Regions from separate parts of the Homo sapiens genome. Here region 1 is linked to region 2. Evidence: promoter capture Hi-C in 16 types of primary human blood cells and fetal thymus (Javierre and others, 2016). All regions are on one chromosome and are shown on one strand. The core of a region is centred on a gene start or on the middle of the fragment in contact, and the rest is flanking DNA. Distances in the headings are between cores, read along the strand shown. Region 1 overlaps USP16 (ubiquitin specific peptidase 16). Region 2 holds the start of SOD1 (superoxide dismutase 1).

Evidence for each region. Contacts are between HindIII fragments. The CHiCAGO score rates a contact against its expected background, and 5 or more counts as called.
Region 1: a contact is called between a fragment that was not itself captured here and the fragment with the promoter of SOD1 in region 2, in 1 of 17 cell types (erythroblasts). The highest score is 6.5, in erythroblasts.

Annotation. Positions count from the first base shown.
Region 1 is chr21:29,036,184-29,041,657 of GRCh38, forward strand. It overlaps USP16 (ubiquitin specific peptidase 16), which reads left to right. Exons shown (of 18, transcript NM_006447.3): 5 at 88-191; 6 at 1,093-1,280; 7 at 2,152-2,247; 8 at 2,843-2,973; 9 at 3,298-3,385; 10 at 4,426-4,504. Among named protein-coding and RNA genes, the nearest start is that of USP16, 14 kb to the left of the region's middle. The HindIII fragment of the contact is 968 bases long and covers 2,462-3,429 here.
Region 2 is chr21:31,657,715-31,662,893 of GRCh38, forward strand. It overlaps SOD1 (superoxide dismutase 1), which reads left to right and starts at 1,979. Exons shown (of 5, transcript NM_000454.5): 1 at 1,979-2,127. The coding sequence starts at 2,056. It overlaps SOD1-DT (SOD1 divergent transcript), which reads right to left and starts at 2,310. Exons shown (of 3, transcript NR_187558.1): 1 at 1,683-2,310; 2 at 220-381. RefSeq lists silencers at 1,592-1,911, 2,182-2,461 and enhancers at 2,622-2,821, 3,321-3,830, 3,831-4,339. The HindIII fragment of the contact is 11,893 bases long and covers 1-5,179 here.

The sequences.
Region 1 (5,474 bases), core at 1,696-4,195, 2.6 Mb before region 2:
ACACACTTTGATTCCAGGAATTATTATTTGTCTCCCCCTTTTTAGTTGTCATTTTGTCATTTTTCATCTCTGATTTTTGGGTCACAGGTGTTACGTATGTGATAATGAGGTCCAGTATTGTAGTTCAAACCAGTTGGGTCAAGTGGTTGATTATGTCAGAAAACAAGCCAGCATTACAACTCCAAAGCCAGGTAAAATAATTTGTTTCTTTAATATACACCAAATGTCGATTTGTGTATCTGCTGATACTTAGATTTGTTATACTACCTAGCATTACATACAGCTGAGTAACATTAGTTATGGTTGATTGCAAACTATGAAACTATTTTTGGTTTAACTATAAGGTATTAGAAGGGATATGAGAAATGATCTAGTCAGATGTGATGAAGGCCATAGACTAAGGTAATGGCCATTAATGCTAAGACTAAGGTAATTCCCATAACCCTAGCCAGGCTTACTATAGACCTGCCTTACACTGTTCTTACTGTCGTACATTTTGTAATAGCAAGATTTCAGTCTGTCTGCTGGGATAACATAAAGCATTTGTGATTCCTTCTAATGGTCAGATATTTCTTAGGTTCTTTCCATGCATAATTAAATTAATTGGCTGACATACAGCATTTGCTTTAAGCATGTTTTTTAAGTTTTTATTGTCACAAGTATCTTTGTCAGAGCCAGAATTATTTGTTTTTTACTTTAGGATTGATTTTTGACCCACAGAATTCATTAAAAAATTTATTTCATGTCCATGTTCTTGATTGTTTTATATTCTTAATTTCACAAGGTAAGATGTGTTCATTTGTAAAGAATTTTCGTGCAGTAAAAAAGGGAGATTTATACCAAAGCACATACTGTTTGGTTTCATTTATCAAACTAATGCTTACTTTAGGTCTGAGTATTTTTTGTTTACTGGGTTTTGTGTTTTTTTTCTGGATGGCAATTTACCTGTATCTATTTAAAATCAAATGGGTGGGTGGGTTGGAAAGAATGACTTCAGGTAAACTCACAAACTCTAGTACTGTTTCCCAAGTATACTTCTGCATTCGATATGACTGTATTACACATTTTGCTAAATCTTTTCTTTTTTTAAAGCAGAGAAAGATAATGGAAATATTGAACTTGAAAATAAAAAATTAGAAAAAGAGAGTAAGAATGAACAAGAGAGAGAAAAGAAGGAAAACATGGCTAAAGAGAATCCTCCCATGAATTCTCCTTGCCAAATAACCGTGAAAGGACTCAGTAATTTGGGAAACACATGTTTCTTCAATGCAGTTATGCAGGTACATTGTCATTTTTTTCCCTTTAAAAAAGCTGTCCTTTTCCTCATAGAATCTGCTACTTACATTATTGAGTTTTTTCCACCTGAGTAATTTATTTCTATGTATCCAAAGAAAACTTTTTTTTTTTTTTTTTTTTTTTTTGAGACAGGGTCTCACTCTGTCACTCGGCTGGAGTGCAGTGGCACGATCGTGGCTCACTGCAGCCTCTACCTCTTGGGCTCAAGCAGTCCTCCTACCTTAGCCTCCAGAGTAGCTGGGACTACAGGCATGCGCCACCACTCCCAGCTAGTTTTTGTATCTTTTGTAGAGACAGGGTTTCGCCATGTTGCCTAGGCTAGTCTTGAACTCCTGGGCTTAAGCCGTCCACCCCCTTTGGCCACCCAAAGTGTTTGGATTACAGGCGTGAGCCACCATGCCTGGCCAAAGAAAACTTAAGGAAAGTTTTATTGCATGACAGTAAGAGAGTTTGGTGAGCACTCGGGTGCAGTGGGTTTGAAAGAAATATTGCTGCTTCTTTCATGGAGCTTGCACTTGGGTGGAGGAAACACAGGATAACCTCATATAGAAGCAAATACGTACCTACAGGTAGTGGTAAGTGGTTGTGAGAGAGTCATGGTGGAGGATTGGGGATAGCTACTTCTGATTGGGTGGTGGGAGAATGCCCCACTGAGGTGATGAATAAGCTCAGAACTGAAGTAGTTATGACCCAAATAGAGTAGGGAGAGAAGCATCTGTAACTTTTCATTTTCCAAGTATAGAGTTTTCAGTGTTGGTCATGATTTTCTGTTTTGATAGAATAGACACTTAAGAAGTGTCAGAGTTGATTTGCCTTTAAATAATTTTTCTCTTTTTTTTTCACCCTACATTCTAGAACTTGTCACAAACACCAGTGCTTAGAGAACTACTAAAAGAAGTGAAAATGTCTGGAACAATTGTAAAAATTGAACCACCTGATTTGGCATTAACAGTATGTTCTTTAAACTTTTCTAGTCTGTAACTTTCCTCTCTGAATGTGTGTTTTCTAAATTATTTTAAATAACTGACACTCATTTCCACTGTTTTTGTTTGTTTTGTTTTACTTTAGGCTACTAACTTAAACAGTTTCAGGCTAATAGAAGTTATAAGGAGGCATTACATCTGTTTGCTGTGTGTGTGCTCTGTTTTTCTATGCTCGAGTGTTAAGCTTCCTTCTTGGGAATGTGTATATGTTTGAGAAGCCTTAGGCTTACATTATTATTTTTAACATCTTTAAGGTGACTTAAGAGCTGTGTAACCAAATAAATATTACCTTATCCATTTTTATTATTTACATTTTGCTTTGGCTCTTTCAATTCTTAGGTAGTAAGTGTTCCAGATAATCTAAAACTAAAATAGTAGAGCTGAATTCTGCATAAGACAGTCTGTGACCAAACAGTTTCTATCTCTTTTGATGTACATTTTAAACTTTTAAATGGGGCAGTTCTGTCAGGAACATTGGTAGTATATGTTAACTAATTAGATTTTAGTAAAGTCAGTGATTCCAGAATTTGACTGAAGAAAGTAATTTCTTTTCCCATATTCAGGAACCATTAGAAATAAACCTTGAGCCTCCAGGCCCTCTTACTTTAGCCATGAGCCAGTTTCTTAATGAGATGCAAGAGACCAAAAAGGGGGTTGTGACACCGAAAGAACTCTTTTCTCAGGTCTGTAAAAAGTGAGTATCCACTTCGATTGTGCTTTCAGTGCCTCAGTGAGATGCTGAGAAATAATATTAATATTAAATAGTAAAATATAAAAATATTAATAGCATTACATTTAGTCAACCCTCTATATACAAAAGGCATAGTTTTTTTTCATTTGGATTTTAAAATATATTTTATGTGATAGTTAAATCTCCCAAGGGTGTTAATGGACTAAACGGAAATTTGTAGAAACCAGAACTCTCTGAGATTTGGGATATGATCCTAAGATTTTCTAAAAATAGCTTCAGAGCTTAGTAGACTGAAGATTGCTTTTCTGTCTTTTTGTTTTTCTCTAGAGCAGTGCGGTTTAAAGGCTATCAGCAGCAAGACAGCCAGGAGCTGCTTCGCTACTTATTGGATGGGATGAGAGCAGAAGAACACCAAGTTAGCATGTTATGACCATTGTATTTTATGATCTTATCTTCATAAGCTTTCTGTCTCATTTGATATCTTACGAGTTAAAACAATGAAAGCTAGTTATTAAGGCCATCATACTTTAAAATTTTTTCTTACACCAGCTTTTTCAACTAGTATGTTTTCACCATTAGAATGAATCCAGAGAATTAGCAGTAATTCTCTTTCTCATGATGGCTTAAGTTTAGTTGATGTTTACAGCATTAATGTTCTTTAAAGATTCTGTTGTACTAACCTATACGAAGAGAGCTGCCAAATATTGGAAATTGTTTCTCCCAAACCCAGGTGCAGCACACCCTTACTTTTAATTCTGAGTCTGATTTAATACTGTTTTTTGAACCTAGGAAGTATTTTCATTTTGTAAGAGTCAGGGAACATTGGTTGCATTTTAAAATTTTTGTTACTTGCCAGGATATAAAAAAATGTATTTGGGGTATGAATTAATGAGTACTAATAATAGTGATAATAACTAATATTTATTTCGCACTTATTTTTATGCCAATCACTGTTTTCAGTGTTTTGTATTAATTCCCTTACTTCGTTCTCACAAAGTTTCTGTGAGGTGGATACTGTGATTTTTTCCTATTCCATAGATTGAGAATCTAGGCTGTAGAGAAGTTCAGTACCTAGTTTAAGGTCCCCCAGAAATAATGGAGCTGGGCTTTAAGCACTGGAGTCAGACCCTGTGGCTGTCATGTAATCATTGTGCTTGTAGGACAAGCTATTTCAGTTTCTTCTCAAAGGTGGTGGGCATGTTCTGAAAACCTTTGGCTTGAAGAGGTTTAAGATCTTGAAATGATAAGATAATACCTTTATTCAATGGTTAGTGATTGCTTTGTGACATAATTCCTTTTTAGCTCCTTGAATTAAGTTTGAAAATGTGATTTTGGAATTATTTAGTAAATATGGGGAGCTGTATCCTGATCACTTTCTTGACTTGATTACATATTTCTAAGGAAAATAAAATTTAAAATTTAATAGTATATATATATCCATTTTATTACTTTTAGAGAGTGAGTAAAGGAATACTTAAAGCATTTGGTAATTCTACTGAAAAGTTGGATGAAGAACTAAAAAATAAAGTTAAAGGTAATGTCTGACTTTTTGAACTAAAACACTATAGTTGAATTCCTCTGTACCTTAGGACAAGATTGCTGGCACATATATTTCCAAGTCCACAATTATTAATGTATAATTTCTCTTTATCAACGTTGATTAGTAAAAATTATTCAGTGCTCCAGAAGTGAACAGTTTTACCCCATGGTGTATTCTTTTTATGTATTAAAGATAGAACTATGATGAATTACAGTTTTACTTTTCAAAAGCTTAAAATTATAATTAGCAGTAATACATGAATTATATTTGTTACTGTGAGTTGTCAGTAGTTGGTTTATTAATCATGGAGCCAACTTAGTTCTTATTATGTGGCGTGTAAAGATTTAGGGCAGATCTGCCCAGTAGAACTTCCTATGTTGATGGAACTCCTCTATACCTTTGCTGTTCCATATAGAAGCAACTAGGCACGTGTGGCGCCTGAAATGTGACTGGTGAAACTGAGGAACTACATTTTTATTTTTATTTAATTGTAATTAAATTTAAATAGCCGTAAGTGACTAAGGGCACTGTATTATAAAGCACAGATTTGAATCAACTCATAGCAACTCTTTGCCTCCTTGGTGCCCTTTAGAGCCTGGCCAGTAATGGAGAGAATTACCCCTGCTGGCATTTTCTGTCAGAAAAGTGTGGTTCTGCATAAATTATCATTTGAATAATGCTTATAGGTTTCACGTATTTGGAAAATTGGCTGATCAAGTAGTAAAATTATGGCTTTTAGTTATATTAAACTTATCAAGATTATTTCTGGGAGCATAGGAAAATAAAAGGAAGATTTTGTTTGAAATATTTTCCTGAGGTTTTTCTTTTGTTTTTAAAATATCAAAGGAGTTCAGTCTTAGAGTTCACAAAACAAGTTACATGCATTTTCTCTCCCAGTTTGCTACTCTGGTATCTTTTATCAGTCTTGAATGTTAGAATGTTAGAGCTAGAACTAAGGAACTAG
Region 2 (5,179 bases), core at 729-3,228:
TGGAATTATTTTTGGTTATCCCAGCCTGGCAGGGAGGGACAGGGTATTACTGGCATCTAGTGAGTAGGGGCTAGGGATTCTACTGAACATCCTACAGTGTACAGGACAGCCTCCACAGCAAAGAACTGTCTGGCCCAAAATGTCCATAGTGCCCACATTCGATGCCCTGCATTAGGAAGATATAAATACTCTTAAATATCACAGAGTTAAATTCCTTACCCCTGTTCTAGCAGAGATGATATTCTTGCGGGGGGAGCATCTTCTTGGCTTCAACACATTCTTTTCTCCATGGGAGATGATGCCAGAAGAGGGACAGAACAGGGCCCAGTAAAGCATGGGGCCTGGGGCCAGGGACCCCCTTGTTCAGGTGTGACGACCATCCTACGAAGGCACCACCCAGGCATCATTAGACCGTCTCAAAAGAAGAGTAATTCACTGTCCCAAAGCAGCTCTCTCGTGTCTGTGGGCGGATCCCTTGGCAAGTTTACAATGAACTGAAATCTGCCGAACTTCCTGGAACCCAAAGAAACTTTAGCCTTGGGCAAAGGCCCTTTGGCCAGCATTTGCACTGTTTATGCAACCGTTTAGAATATACGAATTATCTGGAGACTACTACCAAATACAACAGGCAAAACTGCAAATATGTATACTTCCTAGAGGATGATAAAAAAATGTGAATTGTATTTCTCTGATAGAGGATGCATTAGAGTCTGAGGGTCTAAATAGCGTAAATAATAAATAAGTAAATAAATCGATAGTAGTGTACTCCAAACGAGGCTGGAATAGCTTCTATTGTTGTTTCACACTGGACTTCAATTAAGTCTCAGTATTTTGCCATACTCAATATTAAGTACTAGGCTGGACGTGGTGGCTCATGTCTGTAATCCCAGCACTTTGGGAGGCCGAGGTGGGTAGATGGCTGGCTTGAGCTCAGGAGTTTGAAACCAGCCTGGGCAACATGGTAAAACCCCATCTGTACCCAAAATACAAAAATCAGCCAGGTGTGGTGGCACATGCCTGTGGTCCCAGGTACTTGGGAGGCTGAGGCAGGAGGATGGCTTGAACCCAGGAGGTGGAGGCTGCAGTGAGCTATGATGGCGCCACTGCACTCCAGCCTGGGTGACAGAGCGAGACCCTGTCTCAAAAATCAAACAAACAACCCCCTCGCCCCGGACAAAAGTAGTTTGCACTATTTTCTCATTTCACAATATGTTTTTGAAATATTTCCCTTGAAAGGTAAGTCATATTTATCATTCCTGTTGTATGGAGGCATCATAAATTATTTCACCATTCTACCCTCCTTGAGTGTTGTGGCCTTTAGGCCAGACAAAAACGCAGGTGATGCCTAGAAGCCAACTAGTTGCCGTTTGGTTATCTGTAGGGTTGTGGCCTTGCCAAACAGGAAAAATATAAAAAGAATACCGAATTCTGCCAACCAAATAAGAAACTCTATACTAAGGACTAAGAAAATTGCAGGGGAAGAAAAGGTAAGTCCCGGGATTGAGGTGTAGCGACTTTCTATACCCTCAGAAAACTAAAAAACAAGACAAAAAAATGAAAACTACAAAAGCATCCATCTTGGGGCGTCCCAATTGCTGAGTAACAAATGAGACGCTGTGGCCAAACTCAGTCATAACTAATGACATTTCTAGACAAAGTGACTTCAGATTTTCAAAGCGTACCCTGTTTACATCATTTTGCCAATTTCGCGTACTGCAACCGGCGGGCCACGCCCCCGTGAAAAGAAGGTTGTTTTCTCCACATTTCGGGGTTCTGGACGTTTCCCGGCTGCGGGGCGGGGGGAGTCTCCGGCGCACGCGGCCCCTTGGCCCCGCCCCCAGTCATTCCCGGCCACTCGCGACCCGAGGCTGCCGCAGGGGGCGGGCTGAGCGCGTGCGAGGCGATTGGTTTGGGGCCAGAGTGGGCGAGGCGCGGAGGTCTGGCCTATAAAGTAGTCGCGGAGACGGGGTGCTGGTTTGCGTCGTAGTCTCCTGCAGCGTCTGGGGTTTCCGTTGCAGTCCTCGGAACCAGGACCTCGGCGTGGCCTAGCGAGTTATGGCGACGAAGGCCGTGTGCGTGCTGAAGGGCGACGGCCCAGTGCAGGGCATCATCAATTTCGAGCAGAAGGCAAGGGCTGGGACGGAGGCTTGTTTGCGAGGCCGCTCCCACCCGCTCGTCCCCCCGCGCACCTTTGCTAGGAGCGGGTCGCCCGCCAGGCCTCGGGGCCGCCCTGGTCCAGCGCCCGGTCCCGGCCCGTGCCGCCCGGTCGGTGCCTTCGCCCCCAGCGGTGCGGTGCCCAAGTGCTGAGTCACCGGGCGGGCCCGGGCGCGGGGCGTGGGACCGAGGCCGCCGCGGGGCTGGGCCTGCGCGTGGCGGGAGCGCGGGGAGGGATTGCCGCGGGCCGGGGAGGGGCGGGGGCGGGCGTGCTGCCCTCTGTGGTCCTTGGGCCGCCGCCGCGGGTCTGTCGTGGTGCCTGGAGCGGCTGTGCTCGTCCCTTGCTTGGCCGTGTTCTCGTTCCTGAGGGTCCCGCGGACACCGAGTGGCGCAGTGCCAGGCCCAGCCCGGGGATGGCGACTGCGCCTGGGCCCGCCTGGTGTCTTCGCATCCCTCTCCGCTTTCCGGCTTCAGCGCTCTAGGTCAGGGAGTCTTCGCTTTTGTACAGCTCTAAGGCTAGGAATGGTTTTTATATTTTTAAAAGGCTTTGGAAAACAAAAATACGCAACAGAGACCGTTTGTGTGACACTTTGCAGGGAAGTTTGCTGGCCTCTGTTCTAGGTCATGATTGGGCTGCAAGGGCAGAGAAGGTAGCCTTGAACAGAGGTCCTTTTCCTCCTCCTAAGCTCCGGGAGCCAGAGGTTTAACTGACCCTTTTGGGGATTTTTGAGGGCAGTGATCTTAACTTTGGGTGCACAGTTAGCTTATTTGAAGATCTTACTAAAAATACACCAGAGCCCAACCTCCGACCAATTACATCAAAACCTGTCCTAGTGCAGGGTGAGTATTGCTGTTTTTTGAAAGTTTCCAAAAGTGATTTTGATGTGCACCTACGATTGAGAACTGTCGTTTGAGGACAGTGGGTGGAGTTTCGTATTTGGAAATTAGAAGACCTGGAGTTTCCATTACACCGAATTGGCACTTAATAACTGTTGTCGGAGCATTTCTTAAGCCACATTTTCGTAAAGTGGCTTTAAAATTGCTCTGCCAGTAGGCAGGTTGCTAAGATGGTCAGAGACAAACTTCTGAACGACTCTTGTAAAATATACAGAAATATTTTCAGAACTTTTATCAGTAAAATTACAAAACGTGTTGCAAGGAAGGTGCTTGTGATAACACTGTCCCCAGAACCTTAGTGAAGTTACCAACTGGTGGAAAATTTTCTCTTGCACTCGGCTTAAAAATCATGAGGGAATATTTACTATACGAATGAGATTCAGTCTTTAAAGGGGTTTACAGAAACGTGAGAGGACAGGAACAGTTAGTCTGTGTAAATGTCTGAAATATATGTGAGGGAGATAATGAGTTTAGCCTTTTTCTTTAATAGGTCTCCAGATTTTCTGGAAAAGGTTCTTTGGCATTTGACTCCATTTTGCTGTTTCATTTGTCAGACTTCTTTTTGTCCCTCTTTACTTCTCCCCACATAATTCACCAGTACTAGTGTTTTGTTTTTCAGACCAAGTCTCGCTCTGTCGCCCAGGCTGGAGTGCAGTGGCGCGATCTCAGCTCACTGCAACCTCCGCCTCCCAGGTTCAAGCAATTCTCCTGCCTCAGCCTCCCGGGTAGCTGGGACTACAGGCGCGCGCCGCCACGCCTGGCTAATTTTTTATATTTTAGTAGAGACGGCGTTTCACCATGTTGGCCAGGATGGTCTCGATCTGTTGACGTCGTGATCCACCCGCCTCGGCCTCCCAAAGTGCTGGGATTACAGGCGTGAGCCACCCCGCCCGGCCACCAGTGCTATTCTTAAGACGCCTCTGAGGAATCCCTTCTCCCTGGCCATTGAGAATCCATGCATGAACCCAGGTTTTCCACCTTCCCTGAGCAGCTTGCATAGTTCCTTCTTTTAAGCGCCTGACTTCGTTTTGTTTGGTGCCCGTTGTACCTGAGAATGAGCCTTGGATAGTGGAGCATTCCAGCTTTCCAGATATGCAGAGATAATACATTGGCTATCAGCTACTTGGCTTGGCCTATTCCGTGTTTAAAATCTTGGACTCTTTGCTAGTTTTTACAGATCAGAATTTTTCACGTATTAATCCAGTTTTCCTAGCTTCTCTTGAAGAATTTTTGGAGATCTCTTCATACTGAGCCTTCATTAGCCCAGGACAGTACTGCTGTAGCAGTTCATATATTTTTTCGCTTCCCAGGCCTGTGTTATTCACTTAAGTTCATAGCCTGGTCCCTGCAGGGTTGTACCCGAGCACAGCTACTTAGATGTCCTGAATGTATTACCGGTTAAATGGAGGTTTCAAAGAACCTGCTGTTTTTGGCCCTGTGCTCTTGATAACAGAGTGTTTGAGGGACAACTTTCACATTTGAGTTTTTCCAAAATTAAAGGTTGTAGAAGAGTCACAGTATCTATTGTCAAAAAGAAAAGAATTTAAAAAGGCAGCAATTGCCAGGATACTTCATTTGAGCAATGATATTTTCCAGTGGAAAGTCACATCTTAAGGGTTAATGCCCCTTAACTGTTGGCCGTATTTGAAAACAAACCAAGCTAAAAACAAGAGACACTGACATGTTGTATGACGGTGTGGTGTGGATGTTGTGTTTATTTTAGTCCTGAGATCTAGTTGTAACTTCCTTGATTTCTGTATGTAGCCACGGAGCACCATTACCTGTCACCATTACCTGAATGGCTATACTGCTTGCTTTCATTTTGGTAGAGTGGAAAGGTTACCTAGGTTTCAGTGCTTGAAAAGATTTCAGAAAGCAGTAGTACGTCTGGTTAGACTAGAATCAGTCCTCTCCTGGGGGCAGTGGAATATAATATTTTCTGACTGCTAATTAAAAATACCTGTGATAGCCGGGCGTGGTGGCTTACGCCTGTAATCCCAGCACTTTGGGAGGCCGAGACGGGTGGATCACGAGGTCAGCAGATGGAGACCATCCTGGCTAACACGGTGAAACCCCGTCTCTACTAAAAATGCAAAAAAATTAGCCGGGTGTGGTGGTGGGCGCCTGT